2 separate regions of the Homo sapiens genome follow, and region 1 is linked to region 2. Evidence: promoter capture Hi-C in human tissues and cell types (Jung and others, 2019). All regions are on one chromosome and are shown on one strand. The core of a region is centred on a gene start or on the middle of the fragment in contact, and the rest is flanking DNA. Distances in the headings are between cores, read along the strand shown.

Region 1 (7,241 bases), core at 2,349-4,848, 260 kb after region 2:
TTTTCTTCTTGACTTACTGTAGCACTACATGAGGGAATTCAACAATGTTGAATAATGAGGAATTCAACAATGGAGACATCAAAGTAGACTGGAGGTTAAGGGAAAACTGCACAAAGATGGGACCATTGAGGACAGACACTGAAGAATGGTTTATGATAGTCACTTCTGATTACAATAACCAAAATTATTATTGTCAAGTATTAAGCACTTAGCATGTGCCAGGCGTTGTAATGGAAGCTTCACATATAGTACACTATTTAATCCTTAAAACAACCTTAGTCTTATTGAAACAACTAATCTTACTACCAGTTTGCAAATGACAGTGTGCTCAGAAATGGTAAGTAATTTGTGCAAGGTTTTACAGCTAATAGAAGTCAGAACCAAGATATGAATGTGGGTGGTCTGATACCACAGCCCTACATACTTTTGGACTTTCTTGTCCTTTTTCCCAACAATGGCATCTTGTCTTCAGAAGCACAGCAGAAAGGAATAATGAGGTTTAGTTTCCTAGAGACATAAGTAAAAATTCTGACTCTGACTCTCACTGTCTTGGACAAGGGACATCACCATCTTCAGTTTTTCATCTGCAAGGTGGGGATATTACTTGCCAGACTGAATGGATATGAGGACTAAATGAGATTGCAATAGCTAATTTGTACCAGTACTTATAATGTAAGTGTTCTAAGCATGTTACAAATATCTGGCCATCTAATTTGCACAAGAGCATGATGAGATATTTCCATTATTATTCCCATTTTACAGATGAGGAAATTGAAGATGAGAGGTAAAATATCATGTTCAAGTTCACTAGCTACCAATGGTGGAGATAAAATATGAATGCACGTGGGAAGACTGGAGAGCCATGCTTTTAACCCCTGGACTTTGCTGGATGGGTAGAATGCCCAGGACATACAAAGCACCTGACCAGCAGCAGCTCTGGCCACTATCAGAGGAAAATGATGAGGTTTCCTGCCAAGCTATAGCACTAACAATTAATTTCCTGGTGCAACTTACCTCTGTGACATCTGTGCTGAATTTTGTTTCTCTATGGGTCTAAATCTTGTTTCTTCAACAAGCAGAGCATAAGTTCCTTTGGAGATGACAAGATAAATACGTTAAATCTCAGGTTGACCTATCAGGTCTGGTTAGTATTAGCGGTTAGACCTTAAATAGGCCACTCCCCTTCTCTGGAGGGAGTACATATTCTGCTGACAGACTGAATATACAAACAGACAGTGGCCAGGCCATATCTAAAAATAGAACTCTGACCCACAATCTGCAACAACCAGCCCAGGAAGCCAATCCATCCAGCCCAGGAAGCCAGCCTACTCTCAATATGTCAGACTCTCAAGGAAGTAAGATCACTATCACTAGCAATCAGCCCCGGAAGCAATAACACCTTTAACAATTGGCTCCAAATGGGCAGGACTTGATTAATAATTGACAGCTTCTCTAATTTTTGTCCCTGCTTCCAACTTAGGATAGGCCAGAGAAAGTCAAAAATATAAACCCCAATCACATAGGATGCCCACTTCTAGTCAGCATGCCTACAGCTTCTCCATGCAAACAGCCTCCATTCAGGGGATACCTGAAGCTTTTCTTTATCCAAGTCTAAAGCTTTCCTACTCCTCTGCCTGCCTTGACATCTCTGCCAAAATGCAGGTGATGATGGCTGACTCCCTCGCTAGAGGAAGCTCTGAATAAATAGCCTTGCTTGTTCTCATTTGGGTGGTTTTCAATTATTTCCACACTGCATTTGTAAAATGACAGGGTTGGAATAGATGATTCTGGGTTCTAGAAACTAGATGTGTTACCACTGTCTCAGGGAACCAGATGTAGCTGCTGCCACAATTGCCTTCCATTAGCGAAAAGGAACCTGCATGGTTTCTGTATCACCAGCTTTGGATTCAGAGTTCAATGAATGCATCTGATTGCACAGGCCGAGATGAGATGAGGCCATGTGCTCTGGATGACAAGGAGGCTGGACAAGCTTCCTCTGATGGGAGATGGGCTCTTTCTCAAAAGGAGCGGCATCCCAAACTTAGGAATGAGGTCCAAGCCCAGGTGACCAAAAAGACTTTAAAAAGTCTACTATATCCCTCATTTCCACCATGGCTTGGGGTTGCTCAGACTCCCTATTTGCAAAGATTCAGGTCTTTTCTAACATACTCCACTGTAGCTTTGTCTGCCTGTCCCTCTCCATATGGATGGAGAACAAACGGACCATTCCCTCGCTGGACTCCTAAGTTCCTGGAAGTTAGGGCTATGTTGTCTTTTTAGCTTTTTAGCCTGCCACACCCTACCCCATCTCAGCACAGTATAATGCTACATTATTAATAAGGACTGAATCTGAAAGCAAGATAATGGAAAGTGTTTTTTTAAAAATATATCAAATGTAGTTGCTTTTTATTTGTAAATGGCTGTTAGCTGATTTTTTCATGAGTTAAAGGCCTTTGGCCTTTGTTAGAAAACAGATAATCCACCCTGCTCTGCAAACTGGGCCTTGCTCACGGGAGGCAGTACAATAAATGGCAAAAGAATGACTGAATATAGCCACTCACTTATTTCACTGGGAGATTGGGAACAAAAAAGGTGACATTTGCCAGTTCAGTTCAACTGTCAGGAGCACAGTGAGTCAATCACTTAACGGGAAGAGAGTAGGACTCAGAGGCCTGGAGGCAGGAAGCCATGAATTGTAAGAGTGCTCACACCTTTCTGTGTACATTCTTAGTCTTCTAGAATGTTAGAAGTGGGAAGGAATGTTCATAGAGAATATGCAGATCTACATAGAGAATATGCAGATCATTTTCGAGGGTCCAGAGAGGAAAAGTGATTTGCCAAAGGTTAATACAGTGAGTTATGGCCGAGTTGGCATTAAAATTCAGTTCCTGGCTGGGCATGTTGGTGCATGCCTGTAATCCCAGTACTTTGGGAGGAAGAAGTGGGTGGACTGCTTGAGCCAGGAGTTTGAGACCAGTCTGGGCAACATAGTAAGACCTTGCCTCTACAAAAAAAAAAAAAAAAAAAAAAAAAAATTAGGTGAGAGGATCTCTTGAGCCTGGGAGATTAAGGCTGTACTTAACCATGATCCTGCACTACACTCCTGACTGGGTGACAGAGTAAGCCTCAGAAAAAAAACAAAAAAAATTCAAGTCCCTGTACATCCAGGTCCAGTAAACCTCAGTTCAATTCAAGAAGAACTAAATGTTATCCAGATTACAAATGAAGAATGTATTTATTCATAGATGACATGATTATCTAGGTAGAAACATCCAATGGAATTTACAAAAAGCAACAAACTAGGTGCAATGGCTCATGCTTGTAATCCCAGGACTTTGAGAGGTTGAGGCAGGAGGATCACTTGAGCTCAGGAGTTCGAGTCCAGCCTGGGCAGTAGAGTAAGGCCCCATCTCTACAAAAAGTTAGCTAGGTGTGGTGGCAAGCATCTGTGGTCCCAGCTACACAGGAGGCTGAGGTGGGAGGATTGCTTGGGCCCAGGAAGCCAATGATGTAGTGTGCTGTGTTCCCACCACTGCACTGCAGCTTTGGTGACAGAGGGAGACCCAGTCTCAGCAATAACAACAAAAGCAACTAGAACTAATAAGAAAGCTTAGTGAAGTTGCAGAATACAAGATCAATATACAAAAACAAGTTGTATTTCCATACACCAGCAACACACTCTTGGAACTTGAAATTTTTAAAGATTACTAATTACAATAGCATAAAAAATGAAAATACTTGGGGATAAATCAGGGACAGAAGATTTAAAAGATCTCTACTGGAAACTGCAAACCATTGCTGGAAGAAATTAAAGACGATCTAAATAATAAATATATACCATATTCATGGGTTAAAAGATTCAACTTTATTAAGATTTTCTCCCCAACATGATCTATAAACTTAAGGCATTCACAATCAAAATTCCAGCTGCTTTGTTTTAGGTAAAATTTATAAACCAATTTTAAAATTAATATAAAATGAAACAGATTAAAAATGGCCAGAATAACTTTTAAAAAGAACAAAATTGGAGGATTAATATTATCTGATTTCAAATTTATATAAAGCTATGGCAATTCAGACAGTATAGTATTGATGTAAAGATAGAAGATCGAAAAATAGATCAATGGAACAGAATAGAAAGTCTTGAAAAGACCCATGTATATATGGACAATTGATTTTCAACAAAGTACAACAGCAATTTGGTTAAGATAAAATAGTCTTTTAAAGAGATGGTGCTATAGTAGTTGGGTAGCCAAACAGCAAAAAAAAACGGGGCAAAACAAAACAAAAAACACAAAATAAAAACAAAAAACCCAAAAAACCAAAACAAAAATCAAACAACAACAACAACAACAAAAACCCTTGGATTCATACCTCACTTCATAATTAAAACTTAACTAAAAATGGACCCTGGATCTAAGTGTACAACTACACAACTTCTCAAGGAAAACTCTTGTGACTTTGGATTAGTCAAAAATTCTTTAGATTTAGCAGCAAAAGCACAATCTATAAAAGAACAAATTGGTAAGTTGTACTACATCAAAGTTAAAAATTTCTGTTCTTCAAAAGACATCTAAGAAAATGAAAAGATAATCCATAGTCAGGGAGAAAACATTTATAAATCCTGTATATGATAAAGAACTTGTGTCCAGAAAACATAAAGAATACTCAGAACTCAATTACAAGAAAACAATGCAATTTTCTAAATGAGCAAAAGATTTGGACACCAAAGAAGATAAACAAATGCCTGCCTCCACCCTCCCCCCTCCCCCAAAAAACACATGAAAAGATGCCCAACATCATTTGTCAGTACGTAAGTGCAAATTAAAGCCACAATAAGATAGCACACCTGTTAGAATGGCTACAATTAAAAAGAATGAACACACTAAGTGTTGGAGAAGTTGTGGAAGAACTAAAATTGTCTTATACTGCTGATGATAAGAATGTAAAATGGCACAACCACTTTGGAAAACAGTTTATTGGTTTCTTAAAAAGCTATATGACCCAACTATTCCACTTCTACATATTCATCCAAGAGAAAAGGAAGAATATGTCCATACAAACACTTATACAAGAACGTTCATGTCAGCTTTATTTTTAATAGTCAGCAATTTCAAACAATCTTAATGTCATTAACAAGTGAATAGGTAAACTAATTGCAGTAGATATGTGCATTATCTTGATGGTGGTGAAGGTTTTATAGGTATATACATATGTCGAAACTTACCAAACTGTATACTTTAAATATGTGCAGTTTATTGCATGCTAATTATTGCCCAGTAAAGGTGTGAAAAATTCAATTCAAGATAATTTCTTTTCTAGGCATTGTGGATGTTACAAATGCATAAAGAGAGTATGTGGTAGGGCAGTCATGTCCAGCAATATGAGGCTCAATGTGATTAAGGCAAGACGTTCATGCAGGGAGGTCAGGGAAGGCTTTCTGAAAAATGGATCTTGGATTGGACTTTTAAGGTCCAATTTGATGTCAGTGAGGGGCATGGGAAGACAGGGACCTTGAAGTCCTGCTAGCCCAGGGAAGTGGCTCAATCCTGAACTAATATCTATATTCTCTATCACATTTATGGCATATCATAGTTCAAAATACTTTTATTTAAATTATTTAATTTGTTTCTTTATGTACCACCTCCTATGAAAGTGATTGAGAGAGGCTTATATGAACACATACAATACAACAAGAGTTAAAGAAAATAGATGAAACACGTGGAATACAGACAATATAACGAAATTGTGATAAGATCATTTCACAAAGGATATATGATAAGGTTCTGAATCATAAGTTGGTAGAAGGATTAAAATTTGGCTCTGAACTTTCTAAAGGATGGAACAAAGAGAGAAGCATGATCATTACAAAAAGTACCGAGCATTCTTTACCAATAACTTGGAAAAGGAAAAAAGGAACAACTTACCAAGCACTTTGTCTAGGTTCTCTCATTCAAACCTCACATACCCTGAACAGTGGGCCTGTCTTTCCTACAGATGGCAGAGATCAGTGATTTCTGGAGCTGTTATGGAGATGGTTAATATGTGGAAGTAGCTCCCTCTTTGTCTTGCATAAAGGAGGGAACTGCTGCTGGTCTTTAAATGAATCTTTTCACTGAGAAGGATTCAGAAAGAATCTAAAAAATTCTTTTCAGAGACAGAAAATCAGCTTTGAGGACGTGTGCAGTGGCTTACGCCTGTAATCCCAGCACTTTGGGGGCCCAAGGTGGGCAGATCACTTGAGGCCAGGAGTTTGAGACCAGCATGACCAACATGGCAAAACCCCATACATGCAAAACTTAGCCAGGTGTGCTGGTGGACACCTGAAATCCCAGCTACTTGGGATGATGAGGCAGGAGAGTCTCTTAAACTGGGAGGTGGAGGCTGCAGTGAGCAAAGATTGTGCCACTGCACAATTAACTGCAACAAAGCAAGACTCTATCTCAAAAAAAAAAAAAAAAAAGAAAAAGGAGAAAAGAAAACCAGCTTTGGATCATCTCGATCTATGATTAGATGAAGATGATATGGAATTACTAATCCCCTAGCTTTCTTCTAGACACAAATGTAAATCCACCTCAGAGGAAGATACTATTATTACAATGTGAAAACATCTGAAAGTATTAGAGACGTAACAAAACAGGCATAACTATAGGGCCAAGGTTTGGGAGATGAAAACTCACAGAAGTGAGCCCAGTGTTGGGGGATGCTTTTCCCCTAGGGATATAATCTAAATTCACAAAAATTGATGTAAGTTTGGAAGACTGAGAGGCTGAAAATAAAGGTATTTTTCTCAGAGCCTGCTAAAGAAGGCTCTGGCAACCTCCTTTCCAGGCTTTGGGTTGGGATCTCAAGGTGCTACAACCTAGGAGTGAAATTGCCTTTGCAAAAATTATGACAGTGAGAGAAATCTGACAGAAAAATTATGACAGTGAAATAAATCTGACATAACTAATTCCATCTTTCCTGTAATCTTCAAGTTGCCCTTGTCCATTCCTGGACATAAGCCAAGCTAACTACGGGAGGAATTTAGTTTATAGTTTAACTTTAAAACAAAGATGATAATACCCCCTTCCTGAAACTAACTTGCTCCTTGCTCAGGGACTGAAACTACCTGTGCAAAACTAAACTTAGCAATATGGTTAGAATTATAGTTCAGGAGTCATGTAGCCAGAGGTCACAAAATTTGTAACCTCCCCAATTTCTCCTATAGATAGCATCACTATTGTCAACCTAAGATTGGT
Region 2 (7,105 bases), core at 2,815-5,314:
ACTCGCTCAACAAAAAAATAGTTACTAGGTATCAACTATGTTTTTCATAATAAAAATGAAAAATGGCAACTTCCAACAAAAAAATAGTTATTAGTTATCAACTATGTTATTCATAATAAAAATGAAAAATGGCAACTTCAGTATCAGACCTTCTCCCCTTAGGGGGCTAAAGGTCAAACAGAGTTTGAGTGTCCTGGCCGGGCGCAGTGCCTTATGCCTGTGGCTTACGCTTTTTATGACCCCTTCACCCATCCAATAGCAGGACATTTATTTTTATTCAAATGGTGGTTTCTAAGCCAGAAGTGGGAACCTTGACTTCCACTCCAGACTCAGCTCCTAACATTCTTCTGGCATAAAAGAGCTACTCTTAGCCAGGTGCGGTGGCTCACGCCTGTAATCCCAGCACTCTGGGAGGCCAAGGCGGGCAGTTGACTTGAGGTCAGAAGTTCGAGACCAGCCTGGCCAACATGATGAAACCCTGTCTCTACTAAAAATACAAAAATTAGCCAGGCGTGGTGATGCACACCTGTAATCCCAGTTACTCGGGAGGCTGAGGCAGGAGAATCACTTGAACCTGGGAGGCAGAGGTTGTAGTGAGCCGAGATCATGCCACTGCACTCCAGCCTGAGCAACAGAGTGAGACTCCATCTCAAAAAAAAAAAAATAAAAAAAGTTTGAGTAGCCTATAACATGATCTGTCTTGTCCTAGTTTCCTAAATTCAGCTTATTGATTTACAGTATAGCACATGGTGGTTCATAAAATACTTTCACAACACTTATTTAAGCCTTACAACAGGGCCAGAGGGGCCCAGAGATCTTGTGTGGAACCAGCCAAGTGAGAAACATAAAACACATAGGGGAAAAAATTCCATTTTTCAACCACAAAAACACAGGAAATGGGTAAGTTTATTACATCAGTTGGCTTTTGCTAAGTAGGTTTCAGCCAATAGCCAGAATATAGGAGAATCCTCTTACCTGCTCCCCCTACCAGTTTCTCGAGCACCAGAGGCCATGTTGTAAAGGTTGGCAGAAGATCAGGATAGGACCACAGCGTGTACACTGTACAAAAAGAGATCCAGAAAACACTACTACCAAAAAGCCAATCTTCTAGAGAAATGGAAAAACCTAACACTATGGTCACTTTAATTAGAATACAGGAAAGAAACTCAACTCAAAGCTAAAGAGAAGGTTGTAAGGGGATGCCCAGAGAGGTTTCATTTTTGAGGAAGGAAAAAACCTAAGAAACTGAGTGTCACTTGAGATTTGGAGGCATCCGGATTGCAGCAGCAGAAAATGGTCACAGTGGACAAAAAAGTGAGGGCAGAGAACCAATGAAGCTTTTATTTACGGCTTCAGAAGCAAGTAGCCTAAGAACAGGAAGCCAGCTGTATAAAATTTGGAAACTTTCCCATGTTTATCATTTTTATCCCCTCTGTTTCCATAGTGATTAGCAGCAAAAACCCCTAGGTCAAAAAGCATTGTGGTTGTCTTCAGGTACAGCAAGGAAGTGAGATCAGGGGCAGGAGTGGCCTAAGGATATTGCATTGCACTATTGCAGACAACCCTGGAGGATGAAAAGCCCCAAGTTACAAAGTAGGTGTCAGCAGCTATGGAAAAGAGAAAAGGAGACTGAGTCCCTGAGATTTGTGACAGAGAAGGCAAAGAATCCTAGAGAGCCACTCATAGCCTAAAAAATCCCTGTGAGACCTATGGTTAAAGTACACCATGAAAACAGCTGGATATGTAGCTTATCAATCCAGCTTTATTCCTATCACAGTATATCTTTTCAGTATTTTAGGAAAATCCTGCTACAGATAGTTTTAAGAAACATTTTTTAGGCTGGGCACCCTGCTCATGCCTGTAATCCCAACACTTCGGGAGACTGAGGCAGGAAAATCACTTGAGCTCAAGAGTTCAAGACCAGCCCGAGCAACATAGTGAGACCTTGTCTCTACCAAAAATTTTAAACGTAGCCAGACATGGTGGCATATGCCTGTAGTCCCAGCTACACAGGAGGCTGAGGTGGGAGGATCCCTTAAGCACAGGAGGTTGAGGTTACAGTTAGCTACGATCACACCACTGCACTTCAGCCTGGGTGACAGAGTAAGACCTTGTCTCTAAAAAATATATATATTTTTGGCCAGGCGCGGTGGCTCACGTCTGTAATTCCAGCACTTTGGGAGGCCGAGGCGGGCGGATCATGAGGTCAGGAGATCAAGATCATCCTGGCTAACATGGTGAAATCCCGTCTCTACTAAAAAATGCAAAAAATTAGCAAGGTGTGGTGGCGGGTGCCTGTAGTTCCTGCTACTCGGGAGGCTGAGGCAAGAGAATGGTGTGAACCCAGGAGGCGGAGCTTGCAGTGAGCTGAGATTGCGCCACTGCACTCCAGCCTGGGCAACAGAGCAAGACTCTGTCTCATGAAGACATGCCCTGAAATTCCATCCTTTTCAAGACCTCTGCTCTATTCCTAGTCAACCCACTGTAAACTTCTCAGCCACTGTTCCTTCATCTCAGAACTTCCCTTTGCAACCACCCTTACTTACTATGTCAGCCCTTTTTTTAATCCCTCCTATAGTGGTTTTGCATAAGAGAAAACCTTTTGCATCCTAGAATTGAAAGACCCAATTCTAGGAACACCAGGTCCATAAAGATCCTTGGGGATGGTATTGGGAGATTTCGTGCTTGCTTATTTTATGGGAGACAATGGAAGAAACAGAGAGAAGCAGATGTTAGGCAAGAACTACCTAATGGTAATGGCCATCTTCGTCCTGTTGTCATACCTGTTGGATACAGATTTTTCTCCAGTTCAAAGAGGATGGGGTTACCACCACTCACGTACACAGTCACTGCATCCCCTTTGTGAGCATACAACTTCACAATGTTGAGCTCCTCCTTTCCAGGTACTAACTCAGAGACTTGATCAGTTCCAAGGGTGGGGAAAGCAGTTGTCACATCAGCTCGAAGCTTTCTCCTGTGGAAAGCACACCAGCACTGTGAATGCTGCCTGGACAGACTTTTAATAAATATCAAGAACGAACTCAAAAGTGCTCACTATAAAATCACAAGGGCCAAAGAAAGATTGCCTGGTTTATGATGTCCTAGTCTCACACACACTCTTCTGAAACATCCTAAACTCTTTTTCATCCATTGTCATCTATTTTCACTCATTCCTGGGGTATGCCTTCCCATTTTATGGGTGGGAAAACAGGCCCAGTGAACAATCCAAGTTAGCCTGACACAGGAAACAGCCCTGCCTTCCTGACTTCATGCCTAGCCCTTGGGCCCACTCCTTTCTCATACATGCTTCGCAAATATGCCAGTTTATGATTAAATAACTATGCCATGAGACCTATAGACAACTATAAAGCACTGGTTACAAAATTCCAAACACAATCTCCATTTGTGACCCTGTCTGAACAGATACAGTTCTTCTTACCACATGTGCCTTATTCCCTCCCACCTCAGTTTCCAGCTGTCTCTCCTGCCAGAATTAATCACTAGTCATTTTTTTCTCTTATACTTTTAATTCTTGGTATCCCATCCGATCTCTCCCAAGGGGCATTAAGCTCTTTGGAGGGCAAGAATTCTGTATTCCTTCACTTCTGCATTCTCCACAACACCTTAAATAGTCTGCAGTCAGTAAACTCTGACTTAACTACGTTTTCTTTTAAACTCACTAGACTATCCAAAAGAGAGCCAGGTCCCCCTCCATCCTCACCTCAAAATGTGTCTAACCCACCCTTGCCTCCTGGGGTCCCTTCCCTGGCATACCCCTCGGCCTCCACCCGAGGATGTCGGCCAAGAATAGCGAGGGCTATGGGCCAGCGGGGCCCAAGAGGTGTCTGGTTGTTCCGTGGCAGAGCAGGCCCCTTTCCTCCCTCACCTGTCCGACCCCTTGATGGCCGTGTTGGACTTGACCCGAAAGGCCTTGGCAAACATGTCTGCTGGGGTGGCCTGGGGAAGAGAGCACAGAAGCCAGGGAATGTCAAGAAAGCGAGGGCGCAGCAGCTGCCAGGCCCTCAGCCGTGGGGGCAGCCATGCTGGGGCCCGGCCGCGAAAAGGGCCCGGCTGGAAACCAGGGCCGCGCAGCTTCGTGGCCGTTGCCGCTGGGGAGGCCGCGGCCGCCCCCAGTGGCGGTACCTGGAACTAAAGCAGGGCAGGGAGGGGCAGGGCCCAGGGAACGCCCCTCCCCCCCACCTTCCCATCCCCTCGCGGGCCTGGCTCTGCGCCTGCGCGAGCGGCTCGGGTTCCCCGTCCGTAGCGACTCGGCCACGCCAATAGCTGTTCTGTTTATTTCCTTCCACCCCATCAACCTTAGGAACTGCTTTGAGTAGAAGCTCTCTGCAAGCTCCCATTCCATTCGGTTCGGTTCAATTCCGCAAAAATAATTGAACTGATAAACAGTTCAGGCTTCGGCCGGGCGCGGTGGCCCAAGCCTGTTATCCCAGACTTTGGGAGGCCGAGGCGGGCGGACCGCTTAAGCCCAGAAGTTCGAGACCAGCCTGGGCAACATGGCGAAACCCCATCTCCATAAAAAATACAAAATAAAAAAAAAAAAAAAAAAAAAAAAAAAGAAAGAAAGAAAGAAAGAAAAAGAATTGGGAGGCCGAGGTGGGCGGATCACCTGAGGTCGGGAGTTCGAGACCAGCCTGATCAACATGGAGAAACCCTGTCTGTACTAAAAATACAAAATTAGCCGGGCATGGTGGAGCATGCCTGTAATCCCAGCTACTCGGGAGGCTGAGGCAGGAGAATTGCTTGAACCCGGGAGGCAGAGGTTGTGGTGAGCCGAGATTGCACAATTGCACTCCAGCCTGGGCAACAAGAGTGAAAGTCCGTCTCAAAAAAAAAAAAAAAAGAAAAGAAAAAAGAAAAATTCAGCCGGGTGTGGTGGCGCATGCCTGGGGAGGCTAAGGCGGTAGGATCGCTTGAGCCCAGGAGGCAGAGGTTGCCGTGAGCCGAGATTGTGCCACTGCACCCCACCTTGGACAACAGAGTAAGACTCCGTATCAAAAAAATCAAACAAACAAACAAAAAAACCTCGAGGGCTTTTTGAATATTTTTCTTTATTTTATTTTATTTTGTTTACTTGGAGACAGGGTCTCGCTGTGTCACCCAGGCTGGAGTGCAGTGGCGCAATCTCAGCTCAATGCAGCCTCCACCTCCCGGGCTCAAGCGATCCATCCGCTTCAGCCTCCCGAGTAGCTGGGACTACAGGCGGGCACCACCACACCAGGCTAATTTTTGTATTTTTTGTAGAGACAGGATCTCACCTTGTTGCCCAGGCTGGTCTCAAACTCCTGAGGTCAAGAGATCTGTCCGCCTCGGCCTCCCAAAGTGGTGGGATTACAGGACAGGTGTGAACCACCAAGTCGGGCCTAAATGTTTTTCTTAAAGGCATTCTATGATTAAGGTCTATTCATTGTACTATAAGCTAGAAGCCTCAGCTAGAATTTTCTGTAAGATTTTTCTCATCCCGGATTTTTAGTTTACTTGGGTGGTAATAACAGTAATAGAGAATTCACTGTTGTCCCAGATTTGTCCCAAAGTCACACAGGCAGGGAAGAGAAATTAGGTTTTCCTCAAAGGGACAGCTGTGTTCCCTGGAGACAAGGATTTAAACACCCGGAATCCTGGCTCTTCGTAAATTAAGTCTTGCATATTAAAATTACATTAAGCAATTTAAGTAATAAAAGTAAATTATGTTTTGCATATTAAAACTTCCAAGTGTCCATTCACCAATAAAAAATCCCAATTGATTCAGTGACGCAGTTGCACAAAGGAGAATTCCACACTGGCTTTCTAAACATTAGGCCTTCTACAATGTTTGCCCACCACCTATAGTGGCCTAGGGACCAGCCCCAACTCCTCCTAAACCTGTGACCCACTAGGCCTTTATTCTGAAGTATCCCAGCCACCAGGCCAATGTCAAAGGAGCCCAGAGGAGGACAGTGCCTACAACAGACCCCTGTACCCACCCTTCACCTCCCACTTAGCCACTCTTCGGATGTGCAATACATTTGGGGTCTTTTGCAGCACAGCTGCTGAGGAAGCCTCTTTCTTAGGGAACAGAGGAAAGCTATTCAGAGAATACTAAACATTTTAAGCTAGGGGAACTTTTGTATACCAGATGTCCTTGGATAAGAAAACATCAATTGTAAACCTAAAAATTAATTAGTGGTTGACAAGTAGGAGCCAAGACCCCAGAGGATTCTGCACCATGGCATCCAGCCTCCTCTTTGGTAGAGCAAGAGCCCCCTTCCCCAGTGGGCACAATCCCACCTTCTCTGCTTGCATCACAGACCTGCCTGCTCCCTGCTGGCTGACCCTATTGCAGGGAAAGCAGCCTGAACCTTAAGTTCAGCAAGCCCTGATTCCTGTGCCTTCCATCAGCAGCTCCAGAGCCACCCCACAGGGCTCCCAGACTGTTCCCCACTGGTGGGTCTGAGCTGCCAAGTTGCAGCAAGGCACAGGGCAACTATACCAAGAAAGCTGCCATTTACTGAGAAAAAGGATCGTTTTCACTAATTATACTTGATAGCAACTGGCTGTAAATTGGATTCTTTACAAGAGTACCAAGTATTTGGAAGCAAGGGTAGGCCAGATGAGAGATTCCATTTTCCTTAGACTTCCTTTTTCTTCTCTTCCCAGTGAGTCCTAATGGAGAAAATTTAGTTTAATTCATTGAAACTTAACTGGAAGCTTTCTAATCAGGCTCTGTGATTTTTAAGACAAATTCGACACAAGCACTCTGCCCTCAAGGAACTCACAGTCTAACAAGTGGTATTTATGTCCTCTTGAAGTCTATAGGACCACAGGGTACCCAAACTGATAATTCATCCATGGCTACCTACTAGTTACTCCTTCACTAGCCTTCTCTTCCCTTCTACTGAAGCCCACACGCAAATCCCCTGAAAATATGGATCATTGGCATCTACATTTCAAATGTGACCAATGGTTTGAGAATTCTTTGATGGATCTGGATGGCTTTTCAGATGAGCAAGTGTGTTCACAGCCTCAGAAAGAGTCATGTTATCTTCACCCATATACAGATGATTCAGGGATACGGGATTTTTACTTTTTCAAATGTGTCCATGCCCAT

The links. The method cuts DNA at HindIII sites, captures the fragments that hold promoters and counts their contacts. A contact is called where the count stands out against the background at its distance.
Region 1: a contact is called between a fragment that was not itself captured here and the fragment with the promoter of EIF2D in region 2, in 1 of the 25 tissues and cell types used here (thymus).

What each region holds. Positions count from the first base shown.
Region 1 is chr1:206,871,078-206,878,318 of GRCh38, forward strand. No RefSeq gene overlaps it. Among named protein-coding and RNA genes, the nearest start is that of IL20, 9.1 kb to the left of the region's middle. The HindIII fragment of the contact is 5,366 bases long and covers 916-6,281 here.
Region 2 is chr1:206,608,401-206,615,505 of GRCh38, forward strand. It overlaps EIF2D (eukaryotic translation initiation factor 2D), which reads right to left and starts at 4,065. Exons shown (of 15, transcript NM_006893.3): 1 at 3,887-4,065; 2 at 2,784-2,974; 3 at 976-1,059. The coding sequence starts at 3,942. RefSeq lists enhancers at 1,148-1,247, 1,288-1,347, 3,758-3,827 and a silencer at 4,118-4,327. The HindIII fragment of the contact is 7,443 bases long and covers 2,153-7,105 here.